Regions from separate parts of the Homo sapiens genome. Here region 1 is linked to region 2. Evidence: promoter capture Hi-C in 16 types of primary human blood cells and fetal thymus (Javierre and others, 2016). All regions are on one chromosome and are shown on one strand. The core of a region is centred on a gene start or on the middle of the fragment in contact, and the rest is flanking DNA. Distances in the headings are between cores, read along the strand shown. Region 1 overlaps ITGAX (integrin subunit alpha X). Region 2 holds the start of COX6A2 (cytochrome c oxidase subunit 6A2).

The links. Contacts are between HindIII fragments. The CHiCAGO score rates a contact against its expected background, and 5 or more counts as called.
Region 1: a fragment that was not itself captured here is called in contact with the fragment with the promoter of COX6A2 in region 2 in 1 of 17 cell types (erythroblasts); the score reaches 5.0 in erythroblasts.

The regions. Positions count from the first base shown.
Region 1 is chr16:31,365,474-31,371,271 of GRCh38, forward strand. It overlaps ITGAX (integrin subunit alpha X), which reads left to right. Exons shown (of 30, transcript NM_000887.5): 15 at 5,611-5,741. Among named protein-coding and RNA genes, the nearest start is that of ITGAX, 13 kb to the left of the region's middle. RefSeq lists an enhancer at 3,086-3,692. The HindIII fragment of the contact is 286 bases long and covers 1,382-1,667 here.
Region 2 is chr16:31,425,743-31,431,299 of GRCh38, forward strand. It overlaps COX6A2 (cytochrome c oxidase subunit 6A2), which reads right to left and starts at 2,618. Exons shown (of 3, transcript NM_005205.4): 1 at 2,511-2,618; 2 at 2,273-2,409; 3 at 1,989-2,115. The coding sequence starts at 2,583. The coding sequence ends at 2,032. ITGAD (integrin subunit alpha D) reads left to right here. Exons shown (of 30, transcript NM_005353.3): 30 at 273-763. The coding sequence ends at 386. The HindIII fragment of the contact is 1,386 bases long and covers 1,993-3,378 here.

The DNA.
Region 1 (5,798 bases), core at 275-2,774, 61 kb before region 2:
TCTGTGCTCAGTTTTCTCACTGGTAAAATGGTGATACTAATAGAACCAACCTTATTGAGCTGCTGCTGTGAGGATTAAATGAGTTAGTATGCATGAAGTGCCTGGCACACAATAGGTATCATGTTGTTATAATCTGTTTTAATTATCATTAAGATAGTTTAACAACTGGCCAGGCGCGGTGGCTCCCGCCTGTAATCCCAGCACTTTGGGAGGCTGAGGCAGGCAGATCACTTGAGGTCAGGAGTTCCAGACTAGGCTGGCCAACATGGGGAAACCCCGTCTCTACCCAAAATACAAAAATTAGTTGTGCGTAATGGCGCATGCCTATAATCCCAGCTACTTGGGAGGCTGAGGCAGGAAAATGGCTTGAACCCAGGAATCGGAGGTTGCAGTGAGCTGAGATTGCGCCACTGCACTCCAGCCTGGGTGATAGAGTGAGACTCCATCTCTAAACAAACAAACAAACAAAAAACACATAGTTTAACACCTGAAGGGGAATCTAAAGAAGAGGGTGAAAGACTGTTGAGAATAACAAGGGCCCACGTGTTGTCATGAAACTGCAAACAGTTCGTACCAATTCCCACAACCCATCACATGCAGGCATACCTTGTTTTATGCGCTTTGCAGATACTGCATTTTTTACACGCTGAAGGTATGCAGCGACCCTGCACTGAGCAAGTCTATCAGTGCTGTTTTCCCAGCTGCATGCACTCACTTTGTGTCTCCGTGTTACTTTGGTAATTCTCACAATGTTTCAAACTTTTTTGTAATTATCATGTCTGTGATGGTGATCTGTGATCAGTGATCTTCGATGTTGCTATTGTCCTCTTTTTGGGGCACCATGAAGCACGTCCGTATATGAAGGCGAACTTCATAAATGTGTGTGTTCTGACTGCTCCACCACTGATAGCTCCCCTGTCTCTCTCTCCCTCTCCTGTGGCCTCCCTATTCCCTGCAATGCAATGATATTGAAATTAAGCCAAATAATAACTCTACAATGGTCTTTAAGTGTTCAACTGAAAGGAAGAGTCACATGTCTCTCACTATTTATTTATTTATTGAGGCAGGATCTCACTCTGTCACCCAGCCTGGAGTACACTGGTGTGATCTTGGCTCACTGAAACTTCCCCCTCTGGGGTTCAAGTGATTCTCCTGCCTCAGCCTTCTGAGTAGCTGGCATTACAGGTGGGTGCCACCATGCCTGGCTAATTTTTGTGTTTTTAGTAGAGATGGGGTTTCACCATGTTGGCCAGGCTAGTCTGGAATTCCTGACTCTAAGTGATCTGCCTGCCTTGGCCTCCCAAAGCACTGGGATTACAGACGTGGGCCACCACGTCTGGCCACATATCTCTCACTTTAGATCAAAACCTAGAAATGATTAAGCTTGGTGAAGAAGCCATGCCAAAAGCCAAGATGGGCTGAAGGCCTTTTGCACCAAACAGCCAAATTCTGAATGCAAAGAAAAAGTTATTGAAGGAAATTAAGAGTGTTACTCCAGTGAACATATGAATGATAAGAAAGTGAAACAGCCTAATTGCTGATATGAAGGAAGTCTGAGTGATCTGGATAGAAGATCAAACCAGCCACAACATCCCCTTAAGCCAAAGCCAAATCCAGAGCAAGGTCCGAATGCTCTTCAGTTCTATGAAGGCTGAGAGACGTGAGGAAGCTTCAGAAGAAAAATTGGAAGTCAGCAGAGGTGGAAGTCAGCAGGGTTCATGAGGTTTAAGGAAAGAAGCAATCTCCACAACATAAAAGTACAAGGTGAAGCAGCAAGTACAGATGGAGAAGGCGCAGCAAGTTCTCCAGAAGATCTCTGATGAAGGTGGCTACACTCAACAACAGGTTTTCAGTGTAGATGAGATGGCCTTCGATGGAAGAAGATGGCATCTAGGACTTTCAGAGAAGTCAATGCCTGGCTTCAAAGCTTCAAAGGACAAGTTGACTCTCTTGTTAGAGGCTAATGCAGCTGGTAGGACTTCAAGTTGTAGCCAGTGGTCATTTACCATTTGGAAAATTCCAGGGCCCTGAAGAATGATGCTAAATCCACCCTTCTTGTGCTCTAGAAATGGAACAAAGCTGGGGTGACAGCACATCTGTTTATAGCATGCTTGACTGAGTGTTTTAAGCCCATTCTGGAGACCTGCTGCTCAGAAAAATAGATTTCTTTCCAAAGTTTGCTGCTTATTGACAGTGCACCTGATCACCCAAGAGCTCTGATGGAGATGTTCAAGGAGATTAGTGTTGTTTCCATGCCTGCAAACACAACACCCATTCTGCAGTCCATGGACCAAGGAGTAATTTCGACTTTCAAGTCTCATTATTTCAGAAATACATTTCATAAGGCTATAGCTGCCATAGATAGTGATTCTTCTGATGGATCTGGGCAAAGTCAATTGAAAACCTTCTGGAAAAAAATTCACCATTTTAGATGCCATTAAGAACATTCATGATTCATCAGAGGGGGTCAAAATATCAACATTAACACGAGTTCGGGAGAAGCTGATTCTGATTCTCATGGATGACTTTGAGTGGCTCAAGGCTTCAGGGGAGGAAGTGATTGCGGATGTGTGGAAATAGAGAACCAGAATTAGAAGTGGAGCCTGAATTGCTGCAGTCTCATGATGAAACTTGCACAGATGAGGACCTGCTTCTTACAGATGAGGAAAGAAAGTGTTTTTTTTTTTTTTCAGATGGAATCTATTCCTGGTGAAGATGATATAAATATTGTTGAAATGACAACACAAGATTAAGAATATTACATAATCCCAGCACTTAGGGAGGCTGAGGTGGGCAGACCACCTGAGGTCAGGAGTTCAAGACCAGCCTGGCCTACATAGGGAAACCTCTCTACTAAACATCTCTACTAAAAAAATTAGCTGGGTGTGGTGGCAGATGTCTGTAATCCCAGCTACTCAGGAGGCTGAGGCAGGAGAATCGCTTGAACCCCTCAGGCAAAGGTTGCAGTGAGCCGAGATCACACCACTGCACTCTAGCCTGGGCGACAGAGTGAAAGTGTGTCTCAAAAAAAAAAAAAAAAAGAATATTATATAAACGTAGTTGATAAATCAGCATAGAATTTGAGAGAATTGACTCCAACTTTCTTTTTTTATTTTTTATTTTTTATTTATTTTTTTATTTTTTATTTTTTTTATTGATCATTCTTGGGTGTTTCTCGCAGAGGGGGATTTCGCAGGGTCATAGGACAATAGTGGAGGGAAGGTCAGCAGATAAACAAGTGAACAAAGGTCTCTGGTTTTCCCAGGCAGAGGACCCTGCGGCCTTCCGCAGTGTTTGTGTCCCTGGGTACTTGAGATTAGGGAGTGGTGATGACTCTTAACGAGCATGCTGCCTTCAAGCATCTGTTTAACAAAGCACATCTTGCACCGCCCTTAATCCATTTAACCCTGAGTGGACACAGCACATGTTTCAGAGAGCACAGGGTTGGGGGTAAGGTCACAGATCAAGAGGATCCCAAGGCAGAAGAATTTTTCTTAGTACAGAACAAAATGAAAAATCTCCCATGTCTACTTCTTTCTACACAGACACGGCAACCATCCGATTTCTCAATCTTTTCCCCACCTTTCCCCCCTTTCGATTCCACAAAACCGCCATTGTCATCATGGCCCGTTCTCAATGAGCTGTTGGGTACACCTCCCAGACGGGGTGGTGGCCGGGCAGAGGGGCTCCTCACTTCCCAGTAGGGGCGGCCGGGCAGAGGTGCCCCTCACCTCCCGGACGGGGCGGCTGGCCGGGCGGGGGGCTGACCCCCCCACCTCCCTCCTGGACGAGGCAGCTGGCCGGGCGGGGGGCTGACCCCCCCCCCCACCTCCCTCCCGGACGGGGCAGCTGGCCGGGCAGAGGGTCTCCTCACTTCCCAGTAGGGGCGGCCGGGCAGAGGCGCCCCTCACCTCCCGGACGACTCCAACTTTCAAAGAAGCTCTACTGTGGCCAAATGTTATCAACCAGCATCGCATGCTCCAGAGAAATTTCATGAAAGGAAGAGTCCATCCAGGCAGCAAACTTCCTCACGGTCTTATTTTAGGAAATTGCCATAGCCACCCCAACCTCCAGCAGTTGCCACTGTGATCAGTCAGCCGTGTCACCATCAGGCAAGACCCTCCACCAGCAAAAAGATTATGCCTTGCTAAAGGCTTAAACGATTGTTAGCATTTTTTACCAATCAAATATTTTATTTTTATTTTTGAACTTTTAGATTTAGAGGGGGTACACCTAGCCTTTCTAGACTCCCTCAGTAATTGGTAAATTTCTCTTTTTATTTTGTTATTATTCCTTTTTTTCTTTTCTTTTTTTTAATTTTTATTTTTTAGAGACAGAATCTCATCATGTCACTCAGGCTGGAGTTCAGTGGCGCAATCATAGCTGACTGCAGCCTCGAACTCCTGGACTGAAGAGATCCTCCTGCCAAAGACTCCTGAGTAGCTGGGACCACAGGCACAAAGCCAGTGTGCCCTGCCCATTATTATTACCTTTTTTTTTGAGACAGAGTCTCGCTCTGTCACCCAGACTGGAGCACAGTGGTGCAATCTCCGCTCACTGCAACCTCTGCCTCCCGGGTTCAAGTGATTCTCCTGCCTCAGCCTCCTGAGCAGCTTGGATTGCAGGTATGTGCCATCATGCCCAGCTAATTTTTGTTTATTTAGTAGAAACGGGGTTTCACCATGTTGGCCAGGCTGGTCTGGAACTCCTGACCTCAGATGACCCACCCGCCTCGGCCTCCCAAAGTGTTGGGATTACAGGTGTGAGCCACCGCGTCCAGCCATTATTATCACTTTTAATGGCTGCTAGTTCCAGGGTGCACAGAGATTTAAAGGGCACATTCTTCCAGGGATTGGGCATAACATGAGCACTGGGAATGAAGGTGATAGGTTCTACAGGGGAGGCAGTGCCTGGGAGGGTGGATCTGGGTGTGGGTGCGACCACTCCCTACCCCACCGCGGCTTTTTCTTGTCCTTTGAAGAGACAGAGTGACAGCAAGAAACAAAAAGGGGACTTGGGCCTGGGGTTGGACGGTCTGGTGTTAGGTCTGCAGTCAGCCTCTTAAAGGCTACCTGGGGTTGACACTGTCCCCAACCTCTCTCCTGCATCTTTGCAACGAGGGAGGTGAGGTTGGACAAACTCTGAGGTCCCTTTCAGCCTTAATACTCATTGTGATATATTATTGACTGCTGGCTGTATCCTGGGTGCTGTTCTAAGAACCGTAGGAATTCCTCTCCTGAGCATGGCTAAACTCTGAGCTAATAGTATCATTATATGAAAGATGAGGAAACGGAGGCACAGACAGATTGAGTCCTTGCCCACGGCCTCGTGGCTCATACGTGGAGGAGTCAGAATTGGAACTAGAGACTGATCGAATGAATGACACTCGGGTCACCAGGACACCCTTCCTATCTCCACTCTTACATCTGTTTCTTAGCAATCATCTCCCAACTCCTACCTCCTCTTTTCAGGTTCTTCTTGGTGACATCTGTTCACAACTCACCCCTTCTCTCCCTTTCCGATGGTCCTACCTCCATATTCCCCTTGTTACTTATTTCCAACTTCTTCCCCTACTTTCCATCTTGATTCACCCTTCTCTCCTCTGGCCAGCGGATCGCGGGCTCCCAGCTCTCCTCCAGGCTGCAGTATTTTGGGCAGGCACTGAGCGGGGGTCAAGACCTCACCCAGGATGGACTGGTGGACCTGGCTGTGGGGGCCCGGGGCCAGGTGCTCCTGCTCAGGTGAGAGCAGCCTTTCTCAGAGGCTCCCCAGGTGGTCCTAGGTTCAGATGGGGGTGC
Region 2 (5,557 bases), core at 1,368-3,867:
CATGATCTTGGCTCACGGCAACCTCTGCCTCCCGGGTTCAAGCGATTCTCTTGCCTCAGCCTCCTGAGTAGCTGGGATTACAGGCGCACCACCACACCCAGCTAATTTTTGTATTTTTAGTAGAGACGGGGTTTCACCATGTTGGCCAGGCTGGTCTCCAGCTCCTGACCTCAGGTGATCCACCCTCCTCAGCTTCCCACAGTGCTGAGATTACAGGTGTGAGCCACCGGGCCCGGACTTACCCAGCTTTTCTAATTTATTTCCCCTGATAGCTTGGCTTCTTCAAACGCCACTACAAGGAAATGCTGGAGGACAAGCCTGAAGACACTGCCACATTCAGTGGGGACGATTTCAGCTGTGTGGCCCCAAATGTGCCTTTGTCCTAATAATCCACTTTCCTGTTTATCTCTACCACTGTGGGCTGGACTTGCTTGCAACCATAAATCAACTTACATGGAAACAACTTCTGCATAGATCTGCACTGGCCTAAGCAACCTACCAGGTGCTAAGCACCTTCTCGGAGAGATAGAGATTGTAATGTTTTTACATATCTGTCCATCTTTTTCAGCAATGACCCACTTTTTACAGAAGCAGGCATGGTGCCAGCATAAATTTTCATATGCTTAAGAATTGTCACATGAAATGAGGATGTTTATAGCACACTTTCCTTGCGTGGAAGAGCTATAACCCAGGGACCTGAGTGCCTCTCTGGGAATAGTCGGGGGAACCTATTTGTGGGCATTGAAAAAGTTTTTTCACTTTCTATGGTGATGGGAGCCTGAGGTCATCTTTTCTTGATGGGGCTGAGAGGTGTGTATCAGGGGAGAGGGTCAAAGAGTGTGTGTGTGTGTGTGTGTGTGTGTGTGTGTGCATGTGCATGCACGTGCACGCAGGCATGCATTGGTCATGGGTTTCTTCACACACTTCAGGTTCCTCTGTAATGGTAAGTGGGCAGGCTGTCCTAGGAGGTGAAGAAATGTCCAGAGCTCATTTGAACTCCTGTCCCCCTTGAATGAGGTACTCAGAAGCCAGGAGAGCCAGGCTAGGAGCATGTGATTTCCCATATAGAAGACTCATTAAGAAAGATTATAGGCCGGGCGCGGTGGCTCACGCCTGTAATCCCAGCACTTTGGGAGGCCGAGGCGGGTGGATCATGAGGTCAGGAGATCGAGACCATCCTGGCTAACAAGGTGAAACCCCGTCTCTACTAAAAATACAAAAAATTAGCCGGGCGCGGTGGCGGGCGCCTGTAGTCCCAGCTACTCAGGAGGCTGAGGCAGGAGAATGGCGTGAACCCGGGAAGCGGAGCTTGCAGTGAGCCGAGATTGCACCACTGCAGTCCGCAGTCCGGCCTGGGCGACAGAGCGAGACTCCGTCTCAAAAAAAAAAAAAAAAAAAGAAAGAAAGATTATAGAGAATTATCAAAAGATTCCAAATCCAGCATTAGGTCCCAAGGCCTCACACACAGGACTGTGGAGCCTCCGTCTGAAATCCAGAGAGCTGGGATTCACAGACACCAGCAGCTCAGGTGTCAGGCAAGAAGTGGGACTTCAGGATCTGCAGCCCTGGGCTCCCATGGGGGCTCTGCCGAGCTGCCGGAACTTGGACAAGTCATTTAATTCCCAAGAATCTCAGGTCTTCCTCGGGAGAAGGTGAACTAAATTTATACCCTGCTCCCAGCGTTACTGTGAGGATTCGGTGTACGCGGAAGCCCATTACAGCCTAGAGCCCTAATTATTAATAGGTGTGTGTGAGAGGGAGGCCTCATTATTACCAGGTGAGAGACAGGGAGCTGGGATCGCCTACCTGTGAGTGGAGGAGGCTCCCTCGAGCACCTCCGTATCAGCGGCGTGGGAAAAGCACGTGGAGCGCCCACCGCGCTAGGCGCATGCGCGGAGCAGGAGCGCTTACCAAGCTGGGCGCATGCGCGGAGCGGGCGCCTCTGGGCGCGCTCCCCGTGGCCCCGCCCTCCCCACAGAGCCGCAGACTCGAAGCTTCACACCTTTATTGTGTCCGGGGGCGTCCGGGGCCTCAGGGGTGTTCGTAGCCCGTGGGCAGAGGGTTCACGTGGCTATTGTGGAACAGAGTGTGGTTGCCGTCCCCCCAGGGGTAGGGCTGTGGAGAGAGCGGGGGAGGGAGCGCGCGTGAGCGCCGTGAGTCCGGAGTCCGCGCCCCGCGCGACCCCCCCCCCGCAGCACCCCCCCCCGCCCCCGCAGCACCCCCCCCCGCCCCCGCAGCACCCCCGTGCCGCCCGCGCGCCCGTCCCGCGTACCTTGGTGCGGATGCGGAGGTGTTGGTAGGGACGGAACTCGGGGCGCGGGCGGTGGCCCGAGTGGAGATAGGAGTTGAAGGTGCAGAGGGCCACGCTGGGCAGCGCCAGCACGAAGGTCAGCAGACGCCAGGTACGAGCTGCGGACGGAGCGGGGTGAGCGCGGCGGTCCTGGGGCGGCGGGCCTGTGAACAGGTGGGCAGGGTAGGGGAGCCCCCGGATCCGCCCGTTCCCCACTCACCTCCTGCTCCTCCGTGGCCTCCTTTGGCAGCGCTGGCCAAGCCCCGGGTCAGGGGCCTCAGAGGCAAAGCCATGATGGTGCGGGGAGCCGGGAACCAGCGCTGTCCTCGCTCCCTTTCCTGGGGCCTGGGGTCACCTCCCCTCTCTGGGCCAATCACCTGTTGAGTCTGGAGCACTGGCGGCTATTCTTAGGGGTTTCTATATTTAAAATGGGGCCTGACTGGCTTGAGGTCATCTCCAGACAGCTGTTGTCCTGTGCCTCTTATTTTGGCAAGGAGGCATTTAAGTACAATATGCCATTCTTTTTATATAGTTGCAGGGAAACTATTTTGTTCCCTATTCTATGCCTGGTGGCTGGCACACAGTTGGGCTTTAATAAATATTTGTAGAATGAATTAAGTGTCTTTTTGAGTCTCAGTGTTTTCAGCTGTAAAATGTATAATAATTCGTACCTTAAAAGATTTTTTAAATACTGGAGACGGGGATCTCACTATATTGTCCAGGCTGGTGTGGAACTCTTGAGCTCACGTGATCCTCCCGCCTCAGCCTCCCACAGTGCTGGGATTACAGGCATGAGCCACTACACGGCCCTTACATCATTTTTATGAAGTTTATGTAAGGTAGGAATGTGTCAACCTGGATTTTGGCAGGTAACAGTAGTTCAGTATATGTATTAGTCACAGTTCTTTGCAAAGAACAGAACTCACTCTTACTAGTTTTAGAAGATAAGTAATTGAGAATCTTAGGTAGCTTACTATGTCTGATATAGCCAGAGATGCCTACAGTCTGCACAGTCATAAACAAGTCATTCCGTTGGCCAGCTGCAGTGACACCCCCACAGCTCACACTGCTGGACCCTGGATGCCAAAAGCTTCATTAAGGCTGCCCTGGAAAACCAGAATTTTCCACCCTCATCCCCTCTTGAAAACAGATTCTTCATGAAACCTGTATCCTGGGTCGCTCTTTTCTGAAAGAATTATGTGATTGCACCAACTGGCAACCCCTAGGTCCCCCAGCTGCAGGAGGGGATGGGAAACTGAGCTCTGGATTCTGCCTTAGGGAGGCAGGAATTGTAGGGAAAATCTCCAGGTCTAGGATGAGTATTCAAAAGGTTCCAGGCAGCCACAAGCCTGACAGGTGTCTACTGCAAAGTGCATTATTTCAATCTGAAAAATATGACTACTTGGAGAAAGCAAGCCTAGACAGGGCTGGTGTGAACCCTCTATCAAAGCAGGTCACAAGAAAGCCACAAGACCAGGCAGGGATGACATCTGCCTGTTCTGTCCTCAGCAACGGGCAGGGACCTTGGCATGAAGGAGGTGTTCTAAAAATATGTATGTAATGAATGCTTGAACCTTGTTACTTTGGTTAACCCTACAACAATGCCTTTTCAGAATTACAATCCAATAGGAAGCTTCTAGCTTTGATCAAGGGCTGATGTACTAATATGAACTTAATATACAAAAGAAGAATGAATTATATAGACATATAATCTGAATTTAATATATAAAAAAAACGAGGAAGATATATTTTCAAGAAGGGGCTCTATACCTGTTTCTCATTGGTAATAAACTGAACAGTATGTTCCATCCAACTTTAAGCTGCTGCTATTTTTAAAAAAAATAACCTCCTTGAGCAGTCAAATGTTATACAGTGTTACAAAAATTATTCCTGAGCTCTCACTGAGCTATAATAGAATTCTTCCTACAGTTTTTTTCCCAGCTGGACTTTGGCATTGTTGCAGAGAAGATGGGGCCCTATTCCAGTTAAAGATACCTGGCATCTCCCTCTACACATAGCCCCCTCCCTACGTATATAAGATAATGGCTCCTGGAGAAAACAGACATGAAGACAGGTATTTTTACTTGACAAAGTTCTAGAGGCCTGGCATAGTGGCCCACGCTTGTAATCCCAGCACTTTTGGGAGAATGAGGAGGGCGGATCACTTGAGGTCAAGAGTTTGAGTCCTGCCTGGCCAACATGGTGAAACCCCATCTCTACTAAAAATGCAAAAATTAGCTGGGTGTGGTGGCCCGTGCCTGTAATCCCAGCTACTCGGGAGGCTGAGGCAGGAGAATCGCTTGATCCCAGGAGGTGGAGGTTGTAGTGAGCCAAGATTGTGCCACTGCACTTCAGCCTGGGTGACAGAGTAAGACTCTCTCAAGAAAAAAAAAAAGAAGGAAAAAAGGAAGAAAAGGTTCTAGGTTTCTTTTCTCCCCTAAAAGGCCCCTCAGAGTTTTTCTGGTTGCTGCCAAACAATTCCCTGGGAATTCCCATCCCTTTGTTCTCAGCTTGGGAGCTCCTGTGGAGAGGTTTTCTTGCTGGGATGTCAAGAACGCCCTGAGGAGGGCCACTTCTGTCCTGGGCTGCTGTCACCATCACGAGGTGCACTTGCCCAGGTACCCAGAGACCTCCGCTCAGGTGGTCTGTGCTTTTCTGGGCTTGTCACCATCTTACCTGCCTCTCTAGAGGGTGTGCAGAGCTGTCTCTTCCAGGCTGTGCACTCACCATTGTTTCTGTAAGTTCTCACTCACACAGTTCTTAACCTGGCTGCTGCCAACACTTTCAGTTTCTAGAGGTTTAATTTTTCCTCCACTTTAGGCAGAGGGAAGAACAAACTCACCAGGTGCTAAATAAACCCCGGAGGGCAGCATCTCAGCCTCTGTTCAGAGTATCTCAGCTGTTGGTGGTGAAGGAGGTGGAGGCATGACTCAGGGTCAGTTTCTCTTGTGCCCTCTTCCTGGGATGCTGCATACCATGACCACATTTTCTAAAGCAAAGATCGATTACATGTGATCTACTAAGTATAAATGTTTATGGGGGCCCTAGGGACAGCGTATTTGAAATTAGAATAGTCCTGGAAAAACAACTGTGATACAGGACATGGGTTAGCTAGAACGAACAGGTACAGAGAGATGGAGCTCAGACAGCATTGGGGTGGGGTCCAGTGGCAACAGGGACATAGACTCTAAATAAATGGGGCTCTGAGCTCCCTCTGCACTTGGGAGGGGCCAGTGGCTATGTGATAGTGGATGTCTACTGTTTTGT